Regions from separate parts of the Homo sapiens genome. Here all the other regions are linked to region 6. Evidence: promoter capture Hi-C in 16 types of primary human blood cells and fetal thymus (Javierre and others, 2016). All regions are on one chromosome and are shown on one strand. The core of a region is centred on a gene start or on the middle of the fragment in contact, and the rest is flanking DNA. Distances in the headings are between cores, read along the strand shown.

Region 1 (2,700 bases), core at 23-2,522, 310 kb before region 6:
GGTGACAGAGCAAGAACCTGTCTCAATTAAAAAAAAAATAAAAAAGTTAACCAATCTCATCATTTGGAGATCTATCTGTTTCCTTAAGAAAAAAAAAAGTTAGCAACTGAGCACCAGATCAATCATCAGAATAAAGCATTGTGGGTAAGCTGCTCGTGCTGGGCCGCTGCTGGTGCTAGGCCACATGCTTCTGCCCACACAAACTCCTCCCAAGCAGTATTTGAGGAAGCAAGTTGTTTTTACTTTTCACAACATTCTTATCCCTAGAGATTGGAGGTAATTACGTACCTAGAGGGATTTTCCCTAAAAATAAATAAAATAAGTAATGGCAGGGATAACTGTTTCTGTGCAAAATCAGTGCAAGTTATGCGAGCAGCACAGATGTAACAATAGGAACTCACATGTGTACTAAGCTTATTTCCAGCCAGGCACTTTTCTAAGTGCTTTGTGTAATCTAATTCTCAATTTCTCACGGTAACCTCAAGGGCTAGGTACTATTACCGTCCCCATTTTATCAATGAGACCACAATGATACCAAAAGATTAAGTAACTTGCCCAAGGTCACACGGCAAGAAATTAGCAAAGCCAAGATTTGATCCCAGACCCACTGGCTCTAAAGTCCGTGTTCTTGATCACCACACTATCCAGCAGCTAGCCGCCCATTCAAGCCTTCACCACATCCCACACCTGTGTTCTGCGCTGGAGATAGAATGATGAATTTCACACAGCTGAGGAAAGAGACATAGCAGGCTGAGGGCAATGCCTTAACAGGGTCATCCGACTGGGACTGGAAGATATGACATCCATGCTAACTCTTGGACTTGTGGCAGATAACTAGGCAGGAGGGCAGACAGGGGCGAGGAGGAGAAACTCCATTCAGACAGAGGGTACATAATGTAGAAAGTTTCAAGGCAGGAAAGAACGTGGCTCCCTCAAGGAACAGTAAGTAGTTTAATCCAGGTGGCATAGCGAGACCACAGGTAACAAAGGGTGGGGACACCCAGCAATGCCAAGGCCAGAAAGAAAGAAGGCAGAAATAACATCACAAAGGGCCTTGTGGGCTGCCTAAGGAGTGGGGATTTACCTGAAATTCTGCAATAAACAACTGAAGAATTTTACACAAAGAAATAAAATGATCAGATCTTGTCCGCAGCTCACTGGCTATTACAAAGAGACTAGATTGGAGAGGACAGAGAACTGAAACAGGGAGACTAGCCAGAAGCTGCTACTGTCCATCAAAACTGTGCTAAGAGGCCGTGTGCCAGAATCATGTATCCTTACAACCACAGCAACGGGAAATTTCTAAAACCAAGGTGATGGAGAGGAGCAGATTTGGGGTCACACAGCAGCACTGCGCTCCAGCTCTTCCCAGCAGCCTCTCAGGGGCTGGTGTCCTGAGGTTATGTCCCAGGGTCTTGAAAAAAGCCAGAAACAGCACCTTCTCACTAGGGAAGAAACACACACACACCCCTTCTTTCCCAAGCCCCTCGCCACCCAAACAATTCTTAAAATTCTGATGTTAATCACATTGGGAGCATTTCCTTTTACTTATTAAAATGTGCTTGCATTTCAGCCAGAGAGATTTAGATGGTAACTGGTTTCTATAAGCCTGGAAGTATTTCTGAAGGATTATGATTCAACATGAAATGCACATTCTTGACCTTATTATCTCCAACTTTCCTGGGTCTGGCCAAAGGTCCTCAGAAAAGGCTTTTTAAACAAAGATCCTGGTGTGAACTGCTGCTGAGCTTTGTTCTTTCATTTTTCATGCCTTGTAAATAATTCCTGTTTAAATTCAAAACTTCCTCAGTTGTGTCTCTACAGATTCCTTCACAGAATCCTTGCTCTCTTCCCATGTGAACTGAGGTTAAAAACATGACATACAAGCAGATGATGTTCAAGTCACCGGCATCTTGTATTCTTCCAAATTCAATGTTAAAACGTTCAAAAAACATTATGTCAATAAGGCTCCATTCCCCCCTAAACGTACATTGTTGATTCTACCAAAATGGAATACCTTTTTGGAGTTGAAAACATTGACCAGCTCTGGGTCTCCGAGATTGAGTCTGGAAGGCACCTCCCACATTGAACCTACCTGTCTGCGTTTTTTGGCTTCAAGTATTAAAGCTTCCTTTGGCAGAAATCCCTTTGAACACCAATAGGGTGCGTTGCTTTTCTTCTTCTTCTTCTTTTTTTTTTTTTTTTTTTTTAACTTTTTAGTTAATTCGTTAATAACCTCCTGACTAGGAGGGCTGGTTAGGATGTTCAGGTCAAAGGACAGTGGGATGCTGAACCCACAACCCCACATCCTCATTGGCCCCCATCGCACTCCCCGTCGCCCCCACCCCCAAAGTCTTTGCTTCCAAACCATTGAGTCCTCCCGCAAATGCCCTGGAAACTCTTCTCCGGGAAATCCCGGCTGTCCCGCCTACCGCCCGCGCATGGAAGCGCCTGATGACAATCAGGATACCACCAAGGGTTCCTCCCTGCGCGTCCCTCTGGGATCTGAGATGACCAAGACCTCGAATGGAAGGGGGTCGTCCTAAGAATTGAGGGAAGCGAGCTTTACCTTGACGAAGAGGGTGATGTCGTGCTCCTGCCCCAGGGCCCGGGGCTCGGACGCCTCTCCGTCCTCCCGGCGGCCGTTCACGCGCGCGGCCTCGCCGCTACCCTCGGCGGGGCCCTCCTCGGCCAGGTGGT
Region 2 (2,700 bases), core at 190-2,689, 420 kb after region 6:
CCCCTAGGGGCTAGGATTATGGGAGCTTTCAATTTTCTTCTTTATTTTCTTGGAACTTTCTCTGAATTTTCTAAATCTCCAAGAACACAAATTACAGTACTTCTATAAGAAATTAAAAGGTTGTTTCAAAAATAATGTTTGCTTTTTTCTTTTGAAGTCAGTGTGTTTTGCTTTTTTGACAGTAAATCCAATCTCATAGGAGGTTTCGAGAATCTTCTTGTCCAGATTACACCCAAAAGTTAAACTCATGAGAGACGCAGCATAAAACAGTGACCTGTTGCCAGAACTCCTCTAAGATTTTTTCTTTTTTCTTTTTTTGAGATGGAGTCTCACTCTGTCACCAGGCTGGAGTGCTGTGGCATGATCTCGACTCACTGCAACCTCCAACTCCATGGTTCAAGCCATTCTCCTGTCTCAGCCACCCAAGTAGCTGGGACTACACGCGCATGCCACCACGCCCAGCTAATTTTTTGTTTTTTTTTTTTTGTATTTTTAGTAGAGACAGGGTTTCGCCATGTTGGCCAGGATGGTCTCGATCTCCTGACCTCGTGATCCGCCCACCTCAGCCTCCCAAAGTGCTGGGATTACAGGCATGAGCCACCGCAACCGGCCTCCTCCAAGATATTCTTAGGTGTACCAGGTGAAGACTAGCTGTGGTTGTGAATGAAATCAACTAATCTACAAATATTTCCAGACCCCTAACAAGTACAAGGAATTGCACTGTGCCCTGTGTCAGGAGGTCAAAGGCATGATCCTGGTCTCCGAGAAACTTGCAATCTAGCTGAGCCACAAAGACATAAACATATGCAAAGTGGATTAACAACATGTGCCCAGAAGCGTGATATTGGGACACACGCCATGTGCTGCAGTGGCAAAGGGAGTTTGTTTAGGAAGCCATGAGAGCCAAGAAGTGGACAGAAGGTGAAGGAGGCTCCCGGGGTCTGGGCCTGAAGGCAGTGGGGAGCCACTGTGGGTTTTTTCAGCAGGGCAGTGACGTGATGAGATCTGTATTTCGGGAAGATTAGGTCAGTGGAATGTACAATCCTACTGGAGCAGGAAGAGACTAAAGAGAGAGGAAAACAATTGCAATAAAGGCCCAGTGGAAAGAACACTGGGTGTCAGGTGTGGCTCAGACACCAGGCAGGCCACTCCAAACATGCCACTTCTTCTGCCTGGCACCAGCTGCCTCCCCTGACAAGCGAGAGAGTTAGGCTACAATCTTTAAGGTCCTTGTCAGCTGCTAAAATTCTTTAGTTCCACGATCCAGGTAGGAGTGCTAAAGGCCCGAACCAGTGTGCTGACAATGATGAGGGCAGAAAGGATTTTATTCTAGCAAATGCCTCACGGCAGAAGCTACTAAATCATCTTCAACACAGGCACCCACACAATGAAGTCATGTTTTTTTCTCTTACTCTTATTTTAACCCCACGGGAGGCTTATGCAGCGTTTTCTTTTTACTTTTTTTTTTTTTAATTGAGATGTAGTTTACACACTATAAAATTTCTCTCTGAAACTATACAATTTAGTGTTTTTAGTATAGTCACAAAGTTGTGCAACCATCACCGTTAATTCCAGAATATTCATCACCCCAAAAAGAAATCAACTAACTAAAGCTAATGCCTTACCCGTTAGCAGTCACTTCCCTTTTCCCTTCCCCGGACCCTGGAAACCACTCATCTGCTTTCTGTCTCTACGGGTTTGTTTTTCTGCTGACACGTCATATAAATGGAATCATACAAGTAGACTTTTGTGTCATCTGGCTTCTCTCACTCAGCATCATCTTTTCTTTTCTTTTTGAGCCATAGTTTTGCTCTCGTCACCCAGGCTGCAGTGCCATGTCACGATCTCGGCTCACTGCAACCTCCGCCTCCTGGGTTCAAGTGATTCTCCTGCCTCGGCCTCCTGAAGTAGCTGGGATCACAGGCGCCTGCCACCGTGGTCAGCTAATTTTTTTTTTTTTTTTTTTTTTTGTATCTTTAGTAGAGACAGGGTTTCACCATGTTGGCCGGGCTGGTCTTGAACTCCTGATCTCAGGTGATCCACCCACCTTGGCCTCCCAAAGTGCTGGGCTTACAGGCGTGAGCCACTGCGCCCGGCCAGCATCATCTTTTCAGGGTGGTAGCATGTGTCAGTACTTCATTCCTTTTTATGGCTGAATAATATTCCATTGTATGGATATGCCAGATATTGTTTACTCATGCATCCATTGATAAATATGTGAGTGGTTTCCACTTTTTTTCCAGTGCAGTGAATCTTATTCTCTGGTTTACCAGCAGAAAGCTGTCACATGAGCTTCCATTATTTGAATTGTTTAAAAAGTGGAACTTGGGGGTGAAGGGGAGTGTGATCACTTCTGGACAGAACAATCGTGTCTTCATCTGCATCAATATTCATTCTGGTAAGTCTTACCAGAGATACTACTGGGGGAACTGAAACATTTGTACCTCCAAAAGAGTGTGTGACTTTAAGTGAAAATTGCTGAGCACCAAAGCCCATTCCATGGATTTTAAAATGCCACGGGATTAGGGGTAATCTTTAGCTTTTATGTTCTGCCAGTGAGAGGGCATTGAGTTTGTAGATTCCCAGGCATGACTGAAGCCAAGTCTCAGCTTATGTGGAACTCGCTTTTCATTCTGTAAACAACATACTCAGGCCTGTGCGTATCAGAGTTTCAGCTTTACTTCTTTTCCCACAGTCCAA
Region 3 (2,700 bases), core at 17-2,516, 290 kb after region 6:
ATTGAGCTTAAGTTCAACCAAACTTGGTAATACTCCTCGCAATTGACCTGGAGCCTAATTTCAAACGTAAAAATGCGTCCACTCCTCTAGCGCTGTAGGAAGCTGTGCTTACAAAGTTCGGACGTGGTACAATGATTTTTGTTTTATTACACCTGGTGGAGAAAAAAAAACATAACACCAAACTACGTTACCGAATTCCGAATTCACGGGAGAATGGGGATTTCGGCGACGACTTGAGGAGTACATGACCCAGGACAGAGGACGAAGTGAGCTGCCTCCGGGCCGCGGGCCCCTGTCCTTGGCCACGCCGTCACCTGAAAGGGGCCGCTGGTTCGCTTAGCATCCCTCCAAACCTGAAATCCCCTACCTCAAGATCAATCAAAAGCAGGGGGAAGAAAGTGTCTTCTGGAGGCGCAAGAAAGGCCACAACTTGGATGAATGAAACTGGGCTAAGGGCACCCGGAGCGGGATTTTCGCTGAAGTCAGAAAAAGAAAAGTCAAAAGATTTTTTTTTAACATGAGAGCGATTGCAAGAGACTGGAATACAGACAACGGCACAAACAAGCTTTGGAGGAACGCTTTATTGGGCGCGGACGTTCCGGGCGGCCGGCGGGCGCTAGAGCGGAGGCGGTCGGCGGCAGCCGGCGGGCGGCGGAGCGGGACGGACCAGGCGGCGGCGGCGGGGCCGGCGACGAGGCAGCTTCACGACTGGCGGGGACGGGCCGGAGTCGGGCTGGGCGCCCGCGCGTGTCCTCCCGCGGACCTTCCACTGGACTCCCGCGGGCCGGCGCCGGGATCGGGGTCGGGGCCCGCTCGGTCCGCCCCGCCCCCCGCCCGGCGGGCCGCTTGCGAGGCACACCCTCCCGGACCGCGCACACGCGCAGGCACACCCCCGCCTCCCGCGCGCACGCGGCCGGGCCCGGCCGGCCCACGCGCGCCCCCTTCCCGCGGACGCCCGCCGCCCGCCCGCCGCCCCGGCCTCCTCCGAGGAGTGCAGGAAGGCCCGGGGTCCCGCGGCCAGGGCGCGCGGGGGACGGCGGCCTAGCGGCAGCGGGGGCGCCCGCGCGGGAAGACCGGCTCTGAGGGAAGGTCACTTACCCGCTGCATGGCTTTCAGGATTAAAGCCAGCTCGTAGCGGGGCATGCCTGGAGGATCGGCGAGTGCGGCTCGGAAGCCAGCCGGTTCCCGGGACGCGAAGGGGCGGGACGGCGGGGACAGTGGGGACCTAGAAACTGCTGCGCCGGACGGCTCCCAGGCGGCGAAAGCACGGTCCGAGAGCGCGAGCCCGGGCTTAAAGGCGCTGGCAGCTGCGCAGACGCCGCGCCACGCCCCCTCGGCGCGCCCCGCCCCGCCCGCGCGCCTTGCCGCCGCCCCGCCCCCTCTCCGCCCGCGGGCGGCCGCCACGCCCCCTCCGCAGCCCCGCACCCGCCGCACCGCCCCCGCCCCGACCCCAGCCCAGCCCGCCGGCCGCGGCTAGGGGCGGTGCTGCAGACGCGGCCCAGAGCGGCTCGCGGCGGCCGCACGCCCCCTCGCGACCCTGCCTGCCCCTACCCCGCCTCCTGCCATGCCTGCTACCTAGCTCTCGAACCGGCTGGAACTTTCCATGCCTTCCTTCTCCTCCCGGGCGGCGGGCGAGTGAGTGCCCGCCAGTGCGCGTGCGCTGCGGTGCGGTCTCGTCCGTGCGCGTGCCCCTCGCCCGCGACTCCCCGGAGCTAGGGACCTTCGCGGCGCAAGGCGGGGTCGCGGCCGGCCCGGGGGCTGTGCGGCCAACGGCTGCTCGCAGGGGTTCTGGAACATTCCCGCCCGGGGTCGGTAGGGGGGTGCAGCTCTCGCCCCCAGCCACAACTCTCAGGTCTGACGCGGCTGACCAGGCCCCCTACCCGGCGAGGAGCGCGCTGGCACAGGCCGTGGGCCGCGGCGCGCGGGCTCGGGTCTGACTCAGTCCCTTGGCACTGCGTGACCTTGGGCCTGCTGCCTGTGCCGAAAGTGGGGACCCGAGTGAGTTACTGCACGTTAACCTCCGAGGACGGTGCCTGGTACACACAGGCGCGATACGGGCATTTGTGGTGTGCCCCTGACCTGCCCCCACGTGTTTCAGCGGAGGGCAGGCGAACACCTTAACTCTATCTCATTTCTTTAAATGTTTCCTCCGCTTTCACTTAAAGGCTAGGCTGAGTGCCTGGGAGACCCTTTAGCAACTGTCTAAGGTGGGCAGGGGCATACGTTCTGCCCTTGCCATCCCTTTACACCCACATGGTTCTCCGCCCTCCAGCCAGGGGCTCTGCAAGTGCAGTTTTCTCCAGCGCCCTTCCTTAGAGGTTGAGTACCCTGCAGCTGAGGCCTCTGCCCCTTGTTTGCCCCATTAAAAGCTCTGTACGTGGAGTGTTTGTCAACTTAAAGTGCTTTAACGTTAATAGGTAAAGTTTAGTGAACACTTACTCTGCATCAGGCCCCATGCCAAGGCTGGTGGATGTGTCTCCTAAAATTCTCACAACAGCCCTGAGGTGACAAAGATTCTTTGCTTGGCCAAACTTTAGTCAGGCTTCTGAATCTCATGCTAGGCCCATCTGTGCACTTCCTTGTAAAATCCAGTTCTAGCACAGAACCCCCATCCCCTCATAGCAGATCAGGTTCCTCATCTTCCTCTATCCCCCAGTCATGTCTTTTCACCCTGGCCTGAGTTCTACAAGAATCCTTTAG
Region 4 (2,700 bases), core at 28-2,527, 460 kb after region 6:
GGCTTTATTTTTATGTCCTTTTTTGGTATCCCCTGAGTATAAAGGCCAAAAAGCCCTTTTGGCCTAGAGAATTTGGTTTGAGTAGATTATGTTTAGGAATTAATTGGTTAGACACAGCACCTAACACATGGTCACTCAGCAAAGTCTATCTGGTCCTGCCTGCCAAAATCCCGTGTCTTTAAGGGTTTGTTCAGAGTTCCTGGTCCCTACTAGATCATCGGATCTGTGTTTGATCCATAGCCCTCCAGGGAGGCCTCTTGCCCTTGATCCTAACATGAACACACCTAGTTGTAGGCTGCTCTGTAGCTTTCAAGGCCATTTCATGTACATCTGAAGCTGCATGACAGCCTTGTCACACGGGTGGGAGAGACATCACCCCACTTTACAAATGAGGAAAGAGATTGAGGGGCCCTAGAGATGTGCTCAGAGTCACCTGTCTGGACAGCTGGTGTCAGGCCCTACAGCCCATGTTTTTACCACTGTATAACTAACACCATGCGCCGACACGTTGCTGGAGCAAACGGGCAAAAGTTACCTTAGGTAGGTCCCCTGCCCCTTCCCGCTTTGTCCCTAAGATGCTCCCAATTCACCTTTTAACCAAAACCAGTTCCCAGGTCAGCTCTTCCACTACATTTTACCTTTTGGTCTTCTAGAGAAAATAGTTACAGAGTTCCCCACGCAACAGCCCGCTCAGGTGCCTGTTCCTTAGTCAACCTCCAAGAACTTTTGGCCAACAAACCAGTTCCCTTCCCAGAACCACCCCTGGTTGGGCAGAGGCAGGACCATTGCAGCAAAGAAGTCCTACAGAGCAATGACATGGCCCAGCGCTGCTCCCTATGTGCTAGTGCTGGGACTGGCGTGCCCTCCATGTGGCACAACACTCCTGACACTCATGCTTGGCTTCAACTCCAGCTTCCTCCTGGCAAAGCTTTTAATACATGATCACCTAATGTGACAACCAACGGAGACACCACGTGGCCCCTCAGCCTTTCCAGGAACCAGGAGTGCTGAGGCCCCTCAACCTTTCCAGGAACCAGGAGTGCTGAGGCCCCTCAACCTTTCCAGGAACCAGGAGTGCTGAGGCTGCTGGCTGGCCCGAAGACCATTCAGCCACCTTTTAGGTGGGCCTAGGGCTACTCAGCTAGAGACCACATTCTTGAGCCTCTGGCAGCACCTGACCTTGGTGCTGAGTTCTGGCAAATGGGAAAGGAGAGGAAGCGAGGTGTGCCTTCCTGGACTGCCCTCTTGAGCAATCCTTAGTCCATCCCTCTAGCTAGATGCAGACAAGATGGCAAGCGATGCCAAGGGCAGAGCCACCCTGCCAAGCCTTACTGCTGCCCCTGGGCTGTTAAACACGATGAAGAAATAGACCTCTCTTCAAAGCCACGGGATATTGAGTTCTGTCTCCGCAGCTGAGTCTGCAACCTAACCATGACCACATTCCAGGTTCCCCCAGACTCACTGCCTGCCTCCTGCCTGCAGTGAGGCCTGCTCTGCAGAAGGTGGCGTCATACACACAATCACAGCTCCTACAGACATGTGACTGCCAATGGACAAACCGTCTTTGCGGGAGCCTCATGCTGCTGATGCTGCCCAGATCCTTCAGAGTCAAACTCAGCAAGCTTCCTGTTGATCAAGCACATACAATCTTGGGGAATGATGAGGCCCTTCATATGTCGCCTTACGAGGTCACCAGAGAGAACCTAGAGATCTATGTACAATGATTTGTTTTGTTTTTTGAGACAGTCTCACGCCATCACTCAGGCTGGAGTGCAGTGGCACGACCATGGCTCACTGCAACCTCAACCTCCTGGGCTCAAACCATCCTCCCACCTCAGCTGAAACTACAGGCAGTGAAACTAGAGGCAGTGCGACCACACCCAGCTAGTTTTCATATTTATAGTAGAGACAGGATCTTGCCATGATGCTCAGGCTGGCTTTAAACTCCTGGGCTCAAGTGATCACTGGCCTCAGCCTCCCAAAGTGCTGGGATTATAGGCTTGAGCCACCACACCCAGCCTACAATGATTTTCTTCACAGTATTTTTTTAAAATCAAGGTGAAAGTTTTACAGTCCCTTGTATATGGGATATTTTCGATGCATATTAGCTATTAAATAGTACAAGAGGCCGAGCGCAGCCAGGGTGACAAGAGCAAGACTCCGTCTCATAAATAAATAAATAGTACAAGAGTATTTAAAATGCACACACACACAAAAAATACAGAAATGAAGTGCATCAAAACCTTTATTTTTGTGTAGAAGAACATCTCCATTAAGTGATTTTATTTCCTTTGTGTTTTTCTTTCCTTGCTGAATTTTCTGCATTAACAAGTATTACTTCTGTAACAAGAAGAAAAACTAAATATTTGAGAATAAAAAGTATTGCCTTGATTATGCTGGCTACTAACCGTGGTTAAATAGGTAATAATTACATGTTTTGTACTAGTGATTCCATCCACTCTCTGGTCTGTGTGAGGGGGCCCTCATCAGACTTGGAGAGAACTAGGTATAGTTGGGAAAGTTAATTATTGCATTTGTTTTTAATGGCATTTAACTTTTTATTTTTAAGACAGGGTCTCACTCTGTCACCCAGACTGGAGTGCAGTGGCACAATCATGGCTCACTGCAGCCTTGGCCTCCTGGACTCAAGAGATCCTCCTGCCTCAGCCTCCCAAATACCCGGGACCATGAGCATGTGCC
Region 5 (2,700 bases), core at 142-2,641, 400 kb after region 6:
ATTTCACCAGCCATTAATGTGTTGCAATCTGTGTTTCGTTGGTAGTAAAAGGCAGGGAACTAGGATGACCTACAGTGGAATCAGTGACTCCAGCCAGGTGAATCAGTCTAGCTAATAACAGCTCATGTTCGTTAAACAAGTCCTATGTGCCAAGCATTTTGCCATTACTTAGGTACAATATTACATTTATTCCTCAAAATAAACCCTTAGAGTTAGGCAATGTTATAATTATTTTACTGTTGAAGTCTTCTGAGGTTTAAGAAAGTTAAAGTCCTTTGGACGTGATTACCAGGTAAGAAGTAGAATTTGGGTTTAAGAAGTCTGATTCCAGATCCTAAGCTCTGGCCCCACACCAGGGACTAGAAGGAAAAAGATGAGACATCAGTCTGGAGCCAGGCATCTAAAGATCTCATATACCCATCTAAAGGGCATTGATTCTTTTTATTTTTAGTTGATATGCAATAATTGTACATATTTATGGGACACAGAGTGATATTTTGATACATGTGTACAATGTATAATGATCCAATCAGGGTAATTAGCATATCCATCACCTCAAACATTTATCATTTTTTTGTGTTGCAGACAATCAAAATCCTCTCTTTTAGGCTGAGCACAGTGGCTCATGCCTATAATCCCAGCACTTTGGGAGGCCGAGGTGGGAGATCACGAGGTCAGGAGCTCACAAGGTCAGGAGATCAAGACCATCCTGGCCAACATGGTGAAACCTGTCTCTATTGAAATACAAAAAATTAGCCAGGCATGGTGGTGCAAGCCTGCAGTCTCAGCTACTCAGGAGGCTGAGACACGGGAATCTCTTGAACCCAGGAGGTGGAGATTGCAGTGAGCCAAGATCATGCCACTGCACTCCAGCCTGGGCAACAGAGCAAGACTCTGTCTCAAAAAATAAAAAAAAAAAGAATCGCTACAGAGCTGCAGAGGCACAAGAGGCTGAGGCACAAGAATTGCTTAAACTCAGGAGGCAGAGGTTGCAGTAAGCTGAGATCACTCCACTTCACTCCAGCCTGGGTGACAGGGTAAGACTCTATCTCAAAAAAAAAAAAACCTCTCTTCCAGCTTTTTGAACATGTACATTTAATTATTGTTAACCATATTCACCCTAAAATGCCGTAGAACACTAGAACTTATCCCTCCCATCTTACTGTAACTTGTATCTATTAACCAATCTTTCCTTTTTCCTCCCTAGAGGACTAGAATATTTATGTAAAAAATCATCCAATCACCTTTTATTATTATTATAAATATTTCAAACATATAGAATATAATAGCAAGTAACAGAATTAACTCACAGGTATCTACCACTTGGTTCTATCATTTCATCATATTTGCTTTATATTGTTTCCTTTTTTAACCTATGTCATATTTAAATTAGCTTTTTGTAGACAGCTTATATTTGAGTCTTCTTTTTTATCCAATCTGACAATCTCTGTTTTTTTAGTGGTATGTTTAGCTCATTTACATTTAATGTAATTATTGGTATGGTTGAATTTATGTCTATTATTGTATTATGTGGTTTCTGTTTGTCCTCTGTGTGTTTTGGTTCTGTTCCATTGTTCCTGCCTTCTTTTGAATTACTTAAAGTTTTTAGTATTTCATTTTAATGTATCTGTTGCCTTTTTTGGCAATATCTCTTTGTGTGTGTGTGTGTGTGTATAGTGACTGTTCTAGATATTGCAATATGCATTCCTAGTGTTTTACAGTCTACTTCAAGTTACTATTTTACCAATTCAAAGTAAAATGTAGGAGCCTGACAAACATATACATACTTTTACCCTCCCCCTTTATGTTATACCTGTCATATGTTTATATCTATATACATTGAGAACCTCACCAATGTTATGATTTTTGCCTTCAACAGCCATAAATATTTAAAGAATTTAAAAGGATAAAAATAGGGTATTTTATTTAGCTCAATATTTACCATTTCTGTTGCTCTTCCTTCATTCCTGAAGTTTCAAGTTTCCCTCTGGTATCATTTACCTTCAGCCTGTAAGACTCTCTTTAGCATTTATTTTAGAGCAGGTTTAATACCAAAGAATTCTCTCACTTTTTCTTAATCTGAGAATGTATTTATTTTACCATCATTCCTGAAGGATATTTTTTCTGAATATAGAATTCTGGGTTAAAAGCTCCTTTCTTTAAGCACTTTAAAAATGTTATTCTACTGTCTTCTAGCCTCCATGGTTTCTGGTGAGAAATACTCAGTCATATGAATCCTTGTTCCCCTATATATAATGTGTTACTTATTTCTGGCTGCTTTCAAGATTTTTCAATTATATCTGGTTTTCAACAGTGTGTGATGCATCTGGACATGATTTCCTTTTGGTTTATTCTGTTTGAGACTTGCTGAGCTTCTTAAATCTACAAATGTATGTTTTTCCGAAATGTAAGACATTTTCAGCTATTAATTCTTCAAATATATATTTTTTTCATAATCCAGTCTCTTTTCTCTTTCCTTTTGGTGCTACAAGAACAAGAATGTCAGACCTTTTGGTCTTGTACCACAGGCCACTGAGATTCTATTAATTTTTTTCAATCATTTTTTCTCTCTGTCCTTGAGACCAGATAATTTTTATAGATACATCTTCAAGTTCACTGACTCCTCTGCCATCTCCATTCTGCTATTAAGCCCATTCAATGAGTTTTGTTTTTCAGATATTACAATTTTCATTTTCAAAA
Region 6 (2,700 bases), core at 105-2,604:
TAAGACAACTACCATTTATGTTCTCTGGAATTATATGAAATAGCCATTTATATAGGTTAGAAATGGTCAAATATGGGCAATTCATGTGTATCAACCTAGGAGGACCTACATTTCCAGTGAATGCTTCTTGCTGAGTCCTAGCACAGGCTGGGCCCCTGGAGATCATTTAGGCTGGTTTGCTCTCTGATAGGTGGAATAACTATAGCCTAGAGGGCTTAAGTCACCTGTCCAAGATCACAAGCCTCTCAAGTTGGCCACAGTGCCTGGACTAGAACTCACATCACCCAAGCCAGTGTCCAGCACTGACTGTCCTAGCAGAGGTCACACATTCCAATAACTCACTGTTTTCATTGCTGTGACCAGTTGGCTCAACTGGGTACAAGACATAAGATCAAGACCATGATTTGAGCTTACACATGTCATTAGTTGTGCCCTGTCTCCAGGCTACAGAATGATCCCCTAATTCCAGCCATTCCTGTCATGAATGTGTGTTATTCATGACAACAGCAATCAGGACACTATTAGGAAAGTAACACTCATTTGACCCCAAAGTCCAGAGTTTTCTTTTCTTTCTTTTTTTTTTTTTTGAGATGGAGTCTCACTCTGTCGCCCAGGCTGGAGTGCAGTGGCGTGATCTCGGCTCACTGCAAGCTCCACCTCCCGGGTTCATGCCGTTCTCCTGCCTCAGCTTCCTGAGTAGCTGGGACTACAGGCGCCAGCCACCACGCCAGGCTAATTTTTTTTGTATTTTTAGTAGAGATGGGGTTTCACTATGTTGGCCAGGCTGGTCTCGATCTCCTGACCTCAGGTGATCCGCCTGCCTCAGCCTCTCAAAGTGCTGGGATTACAGGCGTGAGCCACCGCGCCCAGCCCCAAAGTTTTCTTTTCTTGAAACATGGTAGATCGCTCACATCACCTGGGCCTATAAAAGGCAGCAAAGTCTTTCATTTTTATATCAAGAAGAGAAAACAATATGATTACCTACGTTTACCATGAATCCTCCATTTTAAAAACTCTCAAAATTTTCATTCTAAGGCAATTAACAAAGAAATGAGTAAGGAAAACACAAGAAGGAAAGAAGGAAGAGTGGATGAGGAGCCAGGCCATGTACCAGGAAAATCATTCCTTTTATCATTTTCTGGAAAAGGCACATAGATAACTTTGTTACTTAATTCCTCAAAAAATAAAGAATGTGTGCTAAGACTTACCTATGCAGTGTGTGGGCAGGATGAAATTCCTTTCCAAAGCCAGGCTGTTCTGAACCTTCTTGCTGGCGTTAGCGAGCTCTCTTCTGGGTTGCACACAAGCCTCAGCCTGCTGGGCACCTTCACCTTACAACCATCTAAGCCCTTGCAACTGCAGTCTGCAATCCTATGCTTTTATGAACCCACATGTTTAATCTAATCGTATGTGGAAAGTTAAATACTAACTGGCAGTTGGAATTCACCTTGGTGCCTGATGGGGTGTGTGCCTCAGGGACTCTGGCTTTGGGCAGAGTGGCACAAGTTCCTGCTCTGGGACCCTTCCTGCCAGCTCCAGCCAGGGCAGGGCCTGGGTACAGTGAACATCTTTCCCCAGAAGAAGTCTTCCTCTTAGGGTAGGCTTGGGGGACAACAGCATTCCCTGCCAGAATACGTGGGAAGGGCTGGGTGGGGTGGCTCACGCCTGTAATCCCAGCACTTTGGGAGGCTGAGGCGGGCAGATCACCTGAGATCAGGAGTTCAAGACCAGCCTTGCCAACATGGTGAAACCCCGTCTCTACTTAAAAATGTAAAAATTAGCCAGGTGTGGTGGCACACACCTGTAGTCCCTGCTACTCTGGAGGCTGAGGCAGGAGAATCACTTGAATCCACAAGGCAGAAGTTACAGTGAGCTGAAATCATACCACGGCACTCCAGGCTGGGTGACAGAGTGAGACTCTGTCTCAATGAAAGAAGAAAGAAGAAGAGGAAGAGGAAGAGGAAGAAGGAAGAAGAAGGAAGAAGAAGGAAGAAGAAGGAAGAAGAAGGAAGAAGAAAGAAGAAGAAAGAAGAAGAAGACGATGTGGGAAGGACAGGGCCCCAGGGAGAGGAGCCAAGAACAGCCATCTCTGGGTGGTTGGTATGGGTTGAGGGGGTCAGTATAATTCCAGGCAAGTGCCGTGTTCTGAAGACGCTAAATAAGCTAGATTCTGGTAAATACTCCTCCACGGGACCACATCCAAATGAGTTTATAACAACATTGTTGTCTTGTAAAAGAGAAACGGGCTGCAAGGGTACTAAGGTACTACATGGAGGAGCTGGAAGTTAAGTCCAACAAAGAGGTTTTGAGGTTTTTGTTTGTTGTTGTTGTTTTGAAACAGAGTCTTACTCTGTCACCCAGGCTGGAGTGCAGTGGCGCAATCATAGCTCACTACAGCTTTGAACTCTTGGGCTTGAGGGATCCTCCTGCCTCAGCCTCCCAAGTAATGGGACTACAAGTGTGTACAAAGCCTGGTTAATTTTTATTTTTATTTTTGTAGAAATAGGGTCTTGCTGTGTTGCCCAGGCTGGTCTCAAACTCTTGGCCGCAAAGGATCCTCCAGCCTCAGTCTCCTAAGGCGGTGGGATTACAGGTGTGAGCCATGGTGCCTGGCCCCCAGCAAAGTATTTAAAGACCTAGCAAGAGCTAAACATACTCTATTTACCAAAAGATCCTTTTCTATCATGGTGGGGACCCTTG
Region 7 (2,700 bases), core at 197-2,696, 340 kb after region 6:
CCTGCTATGCAGCCCAGTTCCTAAGAGGCCATGGACTGGTACTGGTCTCTTTCAGAGAAAAGGAAACTCTTGTACACTTGGTGGAAATGTAAATTAGTACAGCCGCTGTGGAGAAATTCCTCAAAAAACTAAAAACAGAACTATTATATGATCCAGCAATCCCACTTCTAGGGATATATCCAAAAGAAATGAAATCAATATCTTGAAGATGCATATGCACCCCCATGTTTATTGCAGTATTATTCACAATAGCCAAGACATGAAATTAAACTAAGTGTCCATCAACAGATAAGTAGATAAAGAACATATGATACATACATGTCACATACGAATACACTGGAATATTATTCAGCCTTAAAAAGAGAAGGAAATCCCAACATTTTGAACAACAGATAAGTCTGGAAGATATTGCGCTAAGTGAAATAAGCCAGACACAGAAGGATAAATATGACATGATCTCACTTACGTCTAAAAAAAAGTGGAACTCATTGCCGGCATGCCCACGCCTGTAATCCCAGCACTTTGGGAGGCCGAGGATCACCTGATGCCAGGAATTCGAGACCAGCCTGACCAACATGGTGAAACCCGGTCTCTACTAAAGATACAAAAATTAGCTGGGCGTGGTGGCATGCACCTGTACTCCCAGCTACTCGGGAGGCTGAGACAGGAGAGTCGCTTGAAACCGGGAGGCGGAGGTAGCAGTGAGCCGACATCGCGTCACTGCACTCCAGCCTGGGTGACAGAGGGAGACTCCGTCTCAAAAACAACCAAAAGAAAAGTGCAACTGATAAAAGCAGAGAGTAGCATGCTGGTTGTCAGGGGCTGAGGGGGCAGTGGGAGAAATGGAGAAATATTGGTCAAAGGGTACAAAGTTCCAGTTATAGAGGAGCAGTGCATTCTGGGGAGCTAATGTGCAGCATAGTGACTATAGTGAGTAATACTGTATTGAATATGCTAAATTTGCTAAGAGAGTTGATCATTAAGTGTTCTCACCACTTAAAAACAGACACAAATAGTAACTATGTAAGGTGATGGATATGTTAATTAGTTACTTAAAATAGGTAGGTAGTTAGAGGGATGGATAGATAGATAGATTATAGATACATAGGTAGGTAGATAGATAGATTAGATAGATAGATAGATAGATAGATATAAATAGAAGATAGATAGATAGATATAAATAGAAGATAGATAGATAGATAGATAGATAGATAGATAGATAGATAGATAGATAGATATAAATAGAAGATAGATAGATAGATAGATATAAATAGAAGATAGATAGATAGATAGATAGATAGATAGATAGATAGATAGATAGATATCGATAGAGGAGAGGGCTGGGCATGGTGGCTCATACCTGTAATCCTAGCACTTTAGGAGGCCGAGGTGGGCAGATTGCCTGAGCTCAGGAGTTTGAGACCAGCCTGGGCAACATGGTGAAACCCCGTCTCTACTAAAATACAAAAAATTAGCTGGGCAAGGTGGTGTGTGCCTGTAATTCCCAGCTACTCACGAGGCTGAGGCATGAGAATTGCTTGAACCCGGGAGGTGGAGAAGGTTGCAGTGAGCTGACATCACACCACTGCACTCCAGCCTGGGAAACAGAGTGAGACTCTGTCTCAAAAAAAAAAAAAAAATCTCAAGATAGATAGATGATAGATAGATAGATAGATAGATAGATAGATAGATAGATAGATAGATGATAGATAGATAGATCATTTGGTAGATCGTTCGATAGATTTCATTGACATCTTCTAGCTACTGTAGACTTCTCTCTCTCCCTGCGTAGCCAGGCTTGGGGAGACTTGCTTAGACCTGGTCTCCATTTCTCCCCCTGTCATTAGCTTTACCACCCTCTCCAGTCTGAGTCTCCCTCACTGCTAGACTGAAGCTAGTTTTACCACGGTTTCTTATGACTTCCTTGTTGCTACATCTGTGGATACTTTCCCTTCCTGTATTAGTTTTGTAGGACTGCTATAACAGATTACCACAAACCAGGTAGCTTGAAACAGCAGAAACATATTGTCTCACAGTTTGGGGGCCAGAAGTCTAAAATCATGGTGTTGACAAGGCCACGCTCCCTCTGAAGGCTCTCGGGAGGGAGACTTCCCTGCCTCTTCCTAGTCCTGGTGGTTGCCCTCCTTCCTTGGCTTTCCTCGGGTTATGGTGGCATCATGCCAAACTCTGCCTCTGTCTTCACATTGCCTTGCTTGTGTCTCCGTGTCCAAATTTCCCTCTTTTTATAAGATTAGGGCCCACCCTAATCTAGCATGACCTCATCTTTACTTGATTATATCTGCAAATTCATGACCTCTAAATGAGGTCACAGGTACCAGAGATTAGAACTTCCACATTTCGTTTTGGGGGACACATTTTAAACCCATAACACTTTTATATCTAACTTGACCTGGCAAGCCCTTCTCTCCTTGCGATACCATCTATTCCTGGTCCTCCTTAGACCCCCTCGAAATCTTTTTCCCACATTCCTTCTTGGGCTTCTCTCCTTCTGTCCATCCTTCTGCCATTAGTGTCTTCTGGGGCTTTTCCTAAGCCTACTCCTTTTCTCTCTTAGCTGGAAAATTCCAAACATCTATGGCTTCAGTTGCCATTTCTAGACTGACTCACACAGAAACGCTCACAAAACATACTCAGCTAAAAGTTCCACACTGAAAACTCATCATCTTCATCCCAAACTTG

The links. Contacts are between HindIII fragments. The CHiCAGO score rates a contact against its expected background, and 5 or more counts as called.
Region 1: a fragment that was not itself captured here is called in contact with the fragment with the promoter of KCNE2 in region 6 in 1 of 17 cell types (M2 macrophages); the score reaches 6.4 in M2 macrophages.
Region 2: a fragment that was not itself captured here is called in contact with the fragment with the promoter of KCNE2 in region 6 in 3 of 17 cell types (neutrophils, total B cells and naive B cells); the score reaches 8.0 in neutrophils.
Region 3: the fragment with the promoter of MRPS6 here is called in contact with the fragment with the promoter of KCNE2 in region 6 in 1 of 17 cell types (neutrophils); the score reaches 6.0 in neutrophils.
Region 4: a fragment that was not itself captured here is called in contact with the fragment with the promoter of KCNE2 in region 6 in 1 of 17 cell types (naive CD8 T cells); the score reaches 5.1 in naive CD8 T cells.
Region 5: a fragment that was not itself captured here is called in contact with the fragment with the promoter of KCNE2 in region 6 in 3 of 17 cell types (naive CD8 T cells, total CD8 T cells and naive B cells); the score reaches 5.6 in naive CD8 T cells.
Region 7: a contact is called between a fragment that was not itself captured here and the fragment with the promoter of KCNE2 in region 6, in 1 of 17 cell types (non-activated CD4 T cells). The highest score is 5.4, in non-activated CD4 T cells.

Annotation. Positions count from the first base shown.
Region 1 is chr21:34,670,632-34,673,331 of GRCh38, reverse strand. CLIC6 (chloride intracellular channel 6) reads right to left here. Exons shown (of 6, transcript NM_053277.3): 1 at 2,570-2,700. Among named protein-coding and RNA genes, the nearest start is that of CLIC6, 3.0 kb to the right of the region's middle. RefSeq lists a silencer at 2,626-2,700. The HindIII fragment of the contact is 1,714 bases long and covers 416-2,129 here.
Region 2 is chr21:33,939,358-33,942,057 of GRCh38, reverse strand. All of the region lies in intron 1 of LINC00649 (long intergenic non-protein coding RNA 649), which reads right to left. Among named protein-coding and RNA genes, the nearest start is that of LINC00649, 9.6 kb to the right of the region's middle. The HindIII fragment of the contact is 3,719 bases long and covers 1-2,700 here.
Region 3 is chr21:34,072,144-34,074,843 of GRCh38, reverse strand. MRPS6 (mitochondrial ribosomal protein S6) reads right to left here and starts at 1,266. Exons shown (of 3, transcript NM_032476.4): 1 at 1,099-1,266. The coding sequence starts at 1,143. SLC5A3 (solute carrier family 5 member 3) reads right to left here and starts at 1,266. Exons shown (of 2, transcript NM_006933.7): 1 at 1,099-1,266. RefSeq lists silencers at 609-1,008, 1,299-1,818 and an enhancer at 405-1,355. The HindIII fragment of the contact is 10,607 bases long and covers 568-2,700 here.
Region 4 is chr21:33,900,717-33,903,416 of GRCh38, reverse strand. No RefSeq gene overlaps it. Among named protein-coding and RNA genes, the nearest start is that of ATP5PO, 14 kb to the left of the region's middle. RefSeq lists an enhancer at 1,041-1,636. The HindIII fragment of the contact is 694 bases long and covers 931-1,624 here.
Region 5 is chr21:33,958,636-33,961,335 of GRCh38, reverse strand. The region is part of intron 2 of LINC00649 (long intergenic non-protein coding RNA 649); the gene reads right to left. Among named protein-coding and RNA genes, the nearest start is that of LINC00649, 29 kb to the right of the region's middle. The HindIII fragment of the contact is 3,817 bases long and covers 1-2,700 here.
Region 6 is chr21:34,362,660-34,365,359 of GRCh38, reverse strand. It overlaps KCNE2 (potassium voltage-gated channel subfamily E regulatory subunit 2), which reads right to left and starts at 1,354. Exons shown (of 2, transcript NM_172201.2): 1 at 1,209-1,354. All of the region lies in intron 2 of LOC105372791 (a long non-coding RNA gene), which reads left to right. The HindIII fragment of the contact is 16,740 bases long and covers 1-2,700 here.
Region 7 is chr21:34,025,138-34,027,837 of GRCh38, reverse strand. All of the region lies in intron 2 of LOC105372790 (a long non-coding RNA gene), which reads right to left. Among named protein-coding and RNA genes, the nearest start is that of MRPS6, 47 kb to the left of the region's middle. The HindIII fragment of the contact is 2,941 bases long and covers 1-2,700 here.